2 separate regions of the Homo sapiens genome follow, and region 1 is linked to region 2. Evidence: promoter capture Hi-C in human tissues and cell types (Jung and others, 2019). All regions are on one chromosome and are shown on one strand. The core of a region is centred on a gene start or on the middle of the fragment in contact, and the rest is flanking DNA. Distances in the headings are between cores, read along the strand shown. Region 1 overlaps ENTPD4-DT (ENTPD4 divergent transcript). Region 2 holds the start of NKX2-6 (NK2 homeobox 6).

What was found. The method cuts DNA at HindIII sites, captures the fragments that hold promoters and counts their contacts. A contact is called where the count stands out against the background at its distance.
Region 1: a contact is called between a fragment that was not itself captured here and the fragment with the promoter of NKX2-6 in region 2, in 1 of the 25 tissues and cell types used here (H1 embryonic stem cells).

The regions. Positions count from the first base shown.
Region 1 is chr8:23,486,155-23,491,467 of GRCh38, reverse strand. All of the region lies in intron 3 of ENTPD4-DT (ENTPD4 divergent transcript), which reads right to left. Among named protein-coding and RNA genes, the nearest start is that of ENTPD4-DT, 31 kb to the right of the region's middle. The HindIII fragment of the contact is 6,430 bases long and covers 1-5,313 here.
Region 2 is chr8:23,704,296-23,709,879 of GRCh38, reverse strand. It overlaps NKX2-6 (NK2 homeobox 6), which reads left to right and starts at 3,124. Exons shown (of 2, transcript NM_001136271.3): 1 at 3,124-3,555. The coding sequence starts at 3,282. All of the region lies in intron 3 of LOC107986930 (a long non-coding RNA gene), which reads right to left. RefSeq lists enhancers at 1-463, 4,505-5,404. The HindIII fragment of the contact is 29,317 bases long and covers 1-5,584 here.

The DNA of each region.
Region 1 (5,313 bases), core at 1,288-3,787, 220 kb after region 2:
TTGAATATTAGTAGACGTTTGGTATAGAGATTTTAAATTTCTTACTTTCAAATACTGTACATGAACCAAACTTTCATATTTCCAATAAAAGGTAGGCTTGCAGGCCGGACAAGGTGGCTCACACCTGTAATCCCAGAACTTTGGGAGGCCGAGGTGGGAGGATCACCTGAGGTCACGAGTTCAAGACCAGCCTGGCCAACATGGTGAAACCCCATCTCTACTAAAAATACAAAAAATTAGCCGGGCGTTGGCACTCGCCTGTAGGCCCAGCCACTCGGAAGGTTGAGGCAGGAGAATTGCTTGAACCCAGGAGGCAGAGGTTGCAGGGAGCCAAGATCACACCACTGCACTCCAGCCTGGGTGGCAGAGGGAGACTCTGTCTTAACAACAACAACAAAAAAATTAGGCTTGCAAAGCCTGACCTAGTATAGCTTTGGCTTTAATGAGTAACAAGATACATTTTAATTCAAATACCCAAGCGCCAGCCTAAGAACAATCATGGCTTCTGCTTATAGTGAATTACTGGACGTTATTTACATACAAAAGGATACATTTAAGCGCTTTAAATAGTTTAATACCCTTGGCAGGTAACTAGTACTTATATTGGTTTCTTATGGCTACCCTAACAAATTAGCACAAATTGGGGGCTTAAAATAACAAACTGATTCTCTTACTGGAGTTCTGGAGGCAGGAAGTCTGAAATCAGTTTCACTGAGCAGAAATCAACCACCCAGATGATTGCTTCCTGGGACTCCAGGGGAGAGTGTTTCCTTTTTCTCCTAGTTCCCGGAGCCACCTGGACTCCAGCCATGACTGCCATCACTGCAACCTCTTGCTTTCATTCTCACACCTCTTACTTCCTCCTTCACCTTCTTGCCTCCCTCTTAAAAAGACCCTTGTGATTACCTTTAGAATCTACCCAAATAATCCAGGATAGTCCCCCATCTCAAGATTTTTAATTTAGTCACCCTTGCAAGTCCTTATTGCCATATAAAGTAACAGACACAGGTTCCAGGGATTAGCATGAGACCGTCTTTGGAGGGAGGCATTATTCAGCCTGCCCCAGTGCTCATCTGATCTTATTTGCAGTGAGCACTGACAAAGGCCTTCTTTTAGAGATAGCACAAAGATAAACTTCAGAATGGGGAGCCCTGATCGTGAAAAAGGTGCTGGATGAACGGTGAGGAAGCCGGAGTTCGAGTCCTGCTCTTCCACGGCTGCAGGGTGTAGTGGTTAAGAATACATGGACCCGTTTTGAAATCCCAGATCTGACTTATTAACTGAGTGACCTTGGGCAAGTTGCTTTACTCATCTGCGGAGTAATGAAACCTCCCGGGCGGGGCTGTCCCTGAGATTATAAATGGATTACTCTATGCAAAATACCTGGCACAGTAAGTGTTTTAAGAAATGACTGCCCTTCCCACCCCCAATCTCAGGTATGAAGTCATGCTTGTCAGCTTTTTTTTAACTTTATAAAAGCTGACAGCATCTCACACATATAAATTTATGCTGTTATAAGAGACAAGGTGCATGTAGCCCACCCTCCTATTGTTTCCGTCCTAAGCTGGGAGGAGAACAGGGTTTTGGGTATAGAAAGCCCTGGGTCTACCAGATCTTTAGCAGGAGTGGAAAGTGAAAGTTCATATAGAGAATGACTTTGGGTATAAAGCGATGAAAGAGGGAAAAGAAGATGAAAGAAAAGAGATAATATGGGATCATGGGACTTAGGAAGACAGGAAGGGTCATTTGAGTTCACCTCTGTCACCTGCGTATCATACTGTGTCCGGAATTGGTTCCTGCCAGTGGGTTCGTGGTCTCACTGACTTCAAGAATGGAGCCGTGGACCTTCACGGTGAGTGTTACAGCTCTTAATGATGTCACAGACCCAAAGAGTGAGCAGTAGCAAGGTTTATTGTGAAGAGTGAAAGAATAAAGCTTCCACAGCGTGGAAGGGGACACGAGTGGGTTGCCACTGCTGGCTGGGGGGGTGGCCAACTTTTATTCTCTTATTTGTCCCCTCCCATGGTCCGTTTCTGTCCTATCAGAATGCCCTTTTCTCAATCCTCCCCGAGAGTGGCTACTTTTAGAATCCTTCTGATTGGTACATTTTACAATCCTTTTGCTAGCTACAGAGCACTGATTGGTGCGTTTTACAGAGTGCTGATTGGTGCATTTTACAATCCTCTTGCTGGCTACAGAGCACTGATTGGTGCATTTTACAATCCTCTTGTAAGGCAGAAAAGTTCTCCAAGTCCCCACTCGACCCAGGAAATCCAGCTGGCTTCACTTCTCAATACCGTACTATATGGATGTCTGTTCCTCAAGTGATAGAGAATGTCTTCACCCATAGAATTTAGGTAAAGATTTTTATCATGAACAGACCTTTTTTGGTGGAAAAAAAAATCATGAATTTCAATGTCCCTATCTGTGAAATGGACATTATGAAGTATATCCCATCTTGCTCCAATTACATACAAGTTGAGGTAATGTTTGTGAAGTGTTGTGGAAGTGGTTTTTATGCTGTGCACATTTAAGCTGGCACCATAACCAATTATTGTTATGAAACATGGCAAGGAGGGGCAGTGACATTCATCCAACTTCAAAACACACTCATCCTGGATCAGCAGGCCTGTGTCAGCCTGGAAGAAACAGGCAATACAGCTAAGAACAGGACTTTGCAACAATAGAATGCAAAAAACCACTCTAGATCTCCCCTCTGTGTAGCCAATACAAATGCCTCCTTCTTTAGGACACACTGCGAGCTGTGTGTGCATCTGTATCCAGCTGCCTTGAAGGAAAAACAGCCTGACAGATGAAGCCCATCCTCCAACCCCCAACCTCTCAGTGTCTCGTTTCAGTCACTCTTCCAAACCTGAACACTGTTTCCTGTTTCTAAGGAAAATGACTTAGAAATGGCTCATGGGAGCCTGGTCGCTCCCAGGGTACCCCGCAGCACCCTGGCAGTGAAAGGATCAGAATCAACCAATTTGCTTCTCCTTGAGTGCCCAAGAACCAAGGGAAATCCACACCAGGATGACGCCCTCAGGGCTTTGTCAGGCACAAAAGCATTGAGAAGTCAGTGAGTCTCTTCCGCAACTCGCAGGGCTCCCAGGGCTTGCTCTTGGGTGTGGAGTCCTATTCTTAGCAACACAACGATTTTCTCCTATGGGCCAAATCTCGGTTTGGTTTTCTTTTCTGGCTTTGCTCCAGTTACTTTCTGGGACAGTCTTAATCCCGGGGCCTCAGTTTCTCCACTTTCCCGTTAAGAGGGTTATGCTCCCTTGATCACAGGCAAGTATGATTTGTATACGTACAATCTTCTAGAACAACCCCCTCATTTTGCAGACAGGGAAACTGAGATCCGGAGAAGGGCAGTGGCTTGGCATCGCTCACACAGGGGATGTGTGCGAAGCTAAGTCTCTGACTCCAGCTCTGTAGCCATCAAATGCAAATCAAATCATCTCAGCACTGTCTGGCTTCTTCCCTCACTGTTCTATGGGTGTTTTTCTTCTCTCCTCAGCCAGCTCCTCAGCTCCTCTTGGGCAGAGGCCATGGCTTGGCCTTCTTTCATGTCCCCTCAAGTGCCCAGGCCCATGGTGGGATTCCTTGGTCACTTGCTGATTGGGAGGGCTGACTGATGGAATGAAGAACTGGTGGATTTGAGTTGGGAAGATGCCAGAGTGATCCAGACCTTGAAGCAGGCCCACATGGGCAGGTGTGGGTGGGGGCTCTGGCCAGCCACTTACCAGCTGGGTGGCCTTGGACAAGTTTCTCAATTTCTCCAGGGCTCAATTTCCCCAGCTATAAAATGGGCATGACATACCCAATCCACGTGGTTTGACAATGTAATAAGATACTGCATGCCTGACGTGCCTCATCAGTATTAAATTATTTTTGTTGTAGTTATTTTTGTAATGGGGGGGTAGGCTTACTGGGCACCAAGATGGGGCAGGAAAAGAAACAATGAAAACATAATGGAAAGACATGGTAAAGCACAGGGACACCACGCTGGCCACCAACCCTGAGACTGGAGAGCACCGTGGGACTGCTATAGGTCCTGGTGGTTCTGAAGGAGAAGGTGAGGCAGACAGAGGAGGAAGAAAGCAATGTGGAAAGCCTTAAGCTCCTTAACCTGTAATTAGTCTGTGAACTCCACCCTGGCACCAAGGTGAAATGGGCGGGGCCACTATTCCCTTTTCCTCCCACACCCTCCTGCCACGCTGATTATCCCTTCAGGCAACTACAAGGCAATAGTGTTTGCCTTGACCTGGCTTTGCTGCATACCTCTAGATGTGACTTCCAGACCACAGACCCCTCCCAGCAATTGATGCTACCCTGGAAGCTGGCTCCTCCAGGATGCCCAGATCATAACTCGCTACCAGCTCACCAAGATTCAGCTGGGCCAAGGAGATAAGAAGGCCCATGCGAGCCACTGGTGTGGGGCAGGTCGCTCTGCTGGGTGGACTGGGTGGGCCACCAAGCTGAAGAGATGTTGACAAGCTATGGGGGCAGAATTCTCCTCTCACCCCTGGAAAAAAAATAATGGCAAAGGGATAAAATGGTTGCAAGGTACTTTTAAGAAATCTCCTCCCAGGGGTCAACAACCAAGGTGCTAATGCCTAGGTGAGCTCAGAAAACAGCTTCTGGCCGCGTGGCCCTGGCTGACAGGTGAGGTTTGGCAGGCGTTTCTTCCAACTCCTGAAGCAGGCCCCCTTCCAGGTGTTAATCCTGTGCCTTCTACCTGCACTCAGTGAAGCTCTGCTTATCCCTGATAATAAGCAGTGAGATAATGATCACAATGGAGGCATCTGACATTTTAATGGAGGCAGAATAAGAAGGAAACCAGTAGGAATGAGGAAATTGGCTTTGGGATCCACAAGGCTTGGTTTTGGGTTCCAGGGACCACTTTTCCCTGGACTTCGCACATGAGACTCTGCAGTAAGGGGGCAGATAATACAATTCATTTCAATAATTTAACACCAAAATGCTCTTCTCTAAGAAATGTGCAGGGCGGCTGGGCCCAGGGGCTCACGCCTGTAATCCCAGCACTTTGGGAGGCTGACGCAGGTGGATCACCTGAGGTCAGGAGTTCAAGACCATCCTGGCCAACATGGTAAAGCCCCGTCTCTATTAAAAAAAAAAAAATACAAAAATTAGCCAGGGGTAGTGGCGGATGCTTGTAATCCCAGCTACTCGGGAGGCTGAGGCAGGAGAATTGCTTGAACACAGGTGGTGAAGGTTGCAGTGAGCAGAGATCGCGCCAGTGCACTCCAGCCTGGGCAACAGAGCAAGACTCCGTCGAAAGAAAGCAAA
Region 2 (5,584 bases), core at 1,875-4,374:
CTGCAGAAGGACGGCCTTGCTCCCTGCAGGGGTGGGGCGAGCGCGACAGGGACCCCTATCCCCAGGTCTACGCCGGGAGCGCGCATCCTGAGCCGAAACGACCCTTTCCATAACAAGGACTCGCTACGCTGGGGAGCCTGCTCTTGGAAAGCGGCGGGTAAATTGCTCCGCAGACCCGGACTCTGGTCGAATGGAGACGTTTCCACCCCTCGAGAGGGGTTAGAAAGCATTTTCACGTACAAAAATCTCATTTCATCCTCGCAGCAAGCCAGGAAGGGCAAGGCTGGGGACCTAGGGCTACGATTTGAACTCAAGGCTTCCGACGCCAAGTCCCCCACAAGGTGTCTTTTCTTCTACGACTTAGGTAGAGCGCGACTGTCTGCCACGAAAATTCCACCAACTGATAAGGCGCTGGAAGGTTTCTGGCGTTAGGTTTCTACCCCGGGTGGCCCTACTTCCCCCCTCCAGCACTTGGAAGGCGAGAACCCAGCGAGTCGTCAGTATCCCCTGGAAGGACGAGGCGGAACTCCTACCGCGGAAATATTCTAAGTTCAGGGTCTCTTGTGGGTGCCCGGTGATGATTGTAAACACCCGTAGACCAGGCACTCGCCTGCACCTCCGGGAACAAAATACGATAATACTGTTTTTCTAGGAAGCCCTGGAATGGCATGTCTTATGAGCATTAAAATATTTGACTGATTGATGTTTCTTCTACATATGTATCCTGAGAAAATAACAGAAAATATTGACAAGGATGAAAATTGAAGGCACAAAATAAAGTCTTATTTACAGTGATAAAAAAAGATATTATCTAAAAATACAAACACAGTCTACTACGGTCTATCAATAACATGAAATATTAGATTCCTATTTTAAATTATATTTGTTTAAAAAATTCTAAAGATGAACTGGGCATGCTTATGATGTAAATTTAAACATATACAAACATATATACCCTATGAGCTCATATATACAGAAATAAAGACAAGAAGGTCCACTAAAATGTTGTCTCTGGGTGGATATTTTCTTTTAACTTTTCTTCACTTTTTCCAAGGTGCGCATGATGACTTTTATCAGGAAACAAAAATTCAAATAAATGTATGGGTCATCAGAAGATTTTGAGATCTCTAAGAGCAAAGGATGTATATTTCAAAAAGAAAGAAAGACAGGGTAAATTGTCTTGGTTTAGAGGCTAGTCTGGTCTTGCCATTTGGTGAACTATCTGGGCCACCTCTCTGATCTGGACTCCTCGCTGAACAAAAGAAGAAGAAGGAGAAGGAGAAGGAGGAGGAGGAGGAGGAGGGGAAGAAGAAGAAGAAGAAGAAGAAGAAGAAGAAGAAGAAGAAGAAGAAGAAGAAGAAGAAGAAGAAGAAGAAGAGGAGGAGGAAGAAGAAGAAGGAGCAGCAGCTGGAAATATTTGGGTATAGCTTTGATGTGAAGATTAAATGTTACCATGTATAGGAAATCATTACTTTGTAGCTGAATGATCAAATGTGCTGAAATTTTGCATAAATATTTGTGTGCAATTTTGCACCCATTAGCCTGGGGAGATGAGTTGGGTTTATCTGAATTTCAGGAGATAATCATATTCAAACAGCTGTTGTAACATTGAATTCACGTAAGTAGGTTTAAGAAGCATTTGAAGCCTGCGCGGTGGCTCACACCTGTAATCCCAGCACTTTGGGAGGCCGAGGTGGGCACATTACTTGAGCCCAGGAGTTCAAGACCAGCCTAAGCAACATGGCGAAACCCCGGCTCTACAAGCAATAAATAAATAAATAAATAGCCAGGCTTAGTGGCTGCATCTGTGGTCCCAGCTACTCAGGAGGCTGAGGTGGGAGGATCACTGAGTCCGGGTCGAGGCTGCAGCGAGCCATGATCCGGCCACTGCATTCCAGCCTGGGAGACAGAGAGAGACCCTGTAACCAAAAAAAAAAAAAAAAAGGAAGAAAGAGAAAGAAAGAAAAGAAAGAAAGAAAAAGGAGGGAGGGAGGGAGGGAAAGGAAGGAAAGAAAAACAAAAAGAAACATTTGATCTGAAATCCCCAAAAGAACTCTAATGAGATCCCATTGTGATTAAAACACAATTTTTAAACCCTCTTCGATTCAGTGCTGGAACAGCTGACACCAAATCACGTTTCCCTGATCCAGGAGTAGTAACAGCAGGGGCTGGATCTGTTGGCGCTATCTCCGTGTTGGTAACCTTTGTGCCACACTGCGCCATTTACTCGGTGCCCGCCGTAACCAAGGGCCTTTTCTGGAGATCTAATGCGAGTCAAATCTTCCCAGCCCTTCGGCGGGCGCCGCATTTATACGCGCACACAAGCTGGCACGCTCCAGGCAATCCGCTTTAAGGAGGATAAAGGAGAGGAAGAAAAAGAACGTGGGGACGCCAAGGGCGACGGAAGCCCACCCCCCCCCACCCCCACTCCCGCCTCTGACCACTTTGCGCGGGCCGCAGAGATTGCCTTCCAGTCTCCCCCACCATTCGCGGAGCCCTTTAAGAGGTCGAGGGCTCCCCACATGTAGCCCCCACACCCATTCCTCGGTCCTGGGGCTGAGAAGCTGCTCCTAGGAAGTGGCGGGTCGGGACTCCGCAGACCTGGATTCTGTTCAAAGAGAGAGGTTTCCATCTCAATATAGGCCCTGGTGGGTCAAGACTCACTTCTACTCTGCGGTCCGGCCTCTGCGCACGTAAGATCCCAGCGCGCGCCTCAAATTCCGCGGGTCCCAGCTGTCTCTATCTTAGCTTTCCTCCGCCATAAGAATGCAGAGTTGAGCTAAGACCAGGCTGGATGGACCGGATCGGGTTGCACAGCAAGGACTCCACCTCCAATCCCCGCATGTCCACTAGGAGGGTCCCCGTGGACCCTAGGTTGACCTCGGAAGCTCCCGCTAGTACCGTATTGACGGAGATCCAAGCCGCGCGCAGCACTGTCTCTCCACGTTTTCTTTGCTTTGAGAACCGTCAATACGAACCAAACCTCCCAGGAAGGCGACTGGGGACTGGAGAGGATTCGACGGGCGCGGGAAGAAAGCGCTGGGGGAGGAAGGTGCAGAGCTAGCACGTGGTTTCTGCGAGAACCAATGGGGGGCTACGGTCTCGTCACCCGGCCCTGGACCCGGGCCTACCAGCATGGCCCAGAGGAAGGCGCTGTCTGGGACGCTGGGCGTCTGTCCCAGAGCTTGGGTCTGTCTGCGGGGCCTGCAGCGACAAGACGGGAAGTTCAGGGTGCCGCTCCTCACCCGGACCTCCTCGGCCCCGCCCCATCCGCCTTCGGGATGCTGCTGAGCCCCGTCACCTCCACCCCCTTCTCGGTCAAGGACATCCTGCGACTGGAGCGCGAGCGGAGCTGCCCCGCGGCTTCGCCACATCCGCGGGTGCGGAAGAGCCCGGAAAACTTTCAGTACCTGAGAATGGACGCAGAGCCGCGAGGGTCAGAGGTTCACAACGCTGGTGGCGGCGGCGGTGACAGAAAGCTGGATGGTTCGGAGCCTCCTGGGGGTCCCTGTGAGGCAGTCTTGGAGATGGACGCGGAACGGATGGGGGAGCCACGTGAGTAAGCGCTCAGGTCTTGCCTCCTACGGGGGGAATGTGGGGGCGGGGGCGTGATCCATGGGTGCATGGGGAAAATACGCCTCCTATCTCCTGGGTTCGAGACTCTCTCCATTTTCTCTCGAGGAGTCCAAAAAAAGGCCTCTCGAATCCCATTCCCATCCTCTCCTGACACCCAGTGTGCTTCACACACCCCTAACGAAAGTAAGGCCCTGAATCTCAAGGATTCACTTTTCCCAAATCCGCTCCTCTGATTCCCACAAACGCATCGCTCACACTCGCAGCCACAGTGCCCAGAACCTCCACCTTCTCATCTCCACAGCGAAACCCTCCGCAGTGTCTTAGCCGTGCCAGTCACCACCGCCCTTCCCTACCATCACCTGGTGTCTCTCCACCCCCAAACCGTTTGCAAAAGCGTGTGGCCATCAAAGCAGTGGAACCCTCGTGGCGCTGAGGTCACTCCTAACTGGGCCCTTTCTTGCTGGTCTGGTCGGGGGACCCCCCCATTCCTCCTCATGGATTTTTCTTCTGGAAGACGAAAGTTGGGGACCGGGTGGCGATTGAGTCTCCCGAAGTGGAAGGCCCCGTTGGCGCAGGATTCTCCGCGTCAGGGAGAACGTTAAAGGTTGCCAGGGTTTTCTCTGCCCTGGGACACGGTTCTGGCCGAGTCCTGTCGCAGGTATCCAAAGGCGCAACCGTGCGCGCCGGGCTGCGAGGCCCACGCACCTGTGTCCAGCCCGCTGGAAGGGAAGGGGCTGGCGGGGAGTTGTGTTGCGTCGATCCGGGAGTTGTGTTGTGTCGATCCGGAGGCTTCAGCTGGAGAGGCCCGATATTCCAAGGGATGAAAACGCCACCTTTTTCTCTCCAAACCTCAGCACCTCACTCGGCATTCTCAACGCAGGGGCCCTGAGTAGCGCCCGCCAGGGCAGGCCTCCTCTGCCAGACTGTGCCATGGCGCCTCCATTCAAGGCGCGAACGAAAGAAATAAACCAAGGGGCTAGATCGGAGTTATTTACCGGCCTGCAGGCCGGCTACTCACTAACTCCAGAAGCCTAAGAACATTACCTGCTGTGTCCGCGAAGAAGCTGGTAGGTTTTCTGCAGCGGATTCTAAACTCCCTCGGCGCTGCTCAGCCAACTCGGCGATCACTTCGGCTCCGCTGAGCTGACAAAGGATCACGTTCCTTCGACCACCACAGTCGCCTCGCAGCCGATGGTATTTGCGGCGCCTTCCTTCTCCCACTGGAAACCAAATCCTGGGAGCGTCTCTTCTGCGGCAGCAGTGGACGCCGCCGAGGAGGGACCCGAGGCCGGACCCGAGGCCGGCTCCAGGAACTGAGCCCAAGGCCGCGGTAGCGATCCGGACAGGGAAGACACCTTCGGTGGGCTTCATGCCTTCCTCCATCGCAGCTAACCACCTTGCCCTCAAGAACTCCAGGATTGTGAACAGAAGGGCGCAGGGTGCTGGCCCACCCTGCGGTGCTGTGCAGCCCCAGGGCCTGCATGATCTGTGACTTTGAAATGGGGTCCTCCTTGCTCTGCAGCCTGGCTGAAGGTCAGTTGTTACCTTTCGATGCGCTAAGAAAACAAACCCTCCTCAGAATTTTTCCTCTTTGCAAGTGGAGATGGCCTCAGTTTATCTGAGCACAGACGTCTCTGAAGGAAGTTGTTCTGTCCTCAAACTTTACATACCAAACAGCTCCATCCCCCTCCAGGAGATTGTGCCAGTGCCTTGGGTATTAGGAGTCTGGTTCCAATCGCACTGGCTCATTTAGAGTCCTGTCCCGTCTTGCCATGAACTTGCACCCCTTCCATGCTCCTGATTTTCTCCTGGCGTGAGATCCCATGAAAACTCAGCATTTCCCTTCTATCCACCCTTGGGGTAAAACGGGGTTTAAGCCCAGACAGGAGAGAAGTGAGAAGGGAGGAAAACGCTGCATCTTGGTGGGCACAGTCTCAGCTGTAGGGGTCGCCCTGGGTGAAAGGAAGACTTCAGGGTGAAGCCCACACCACCTGCTTGCCAGAAAGAC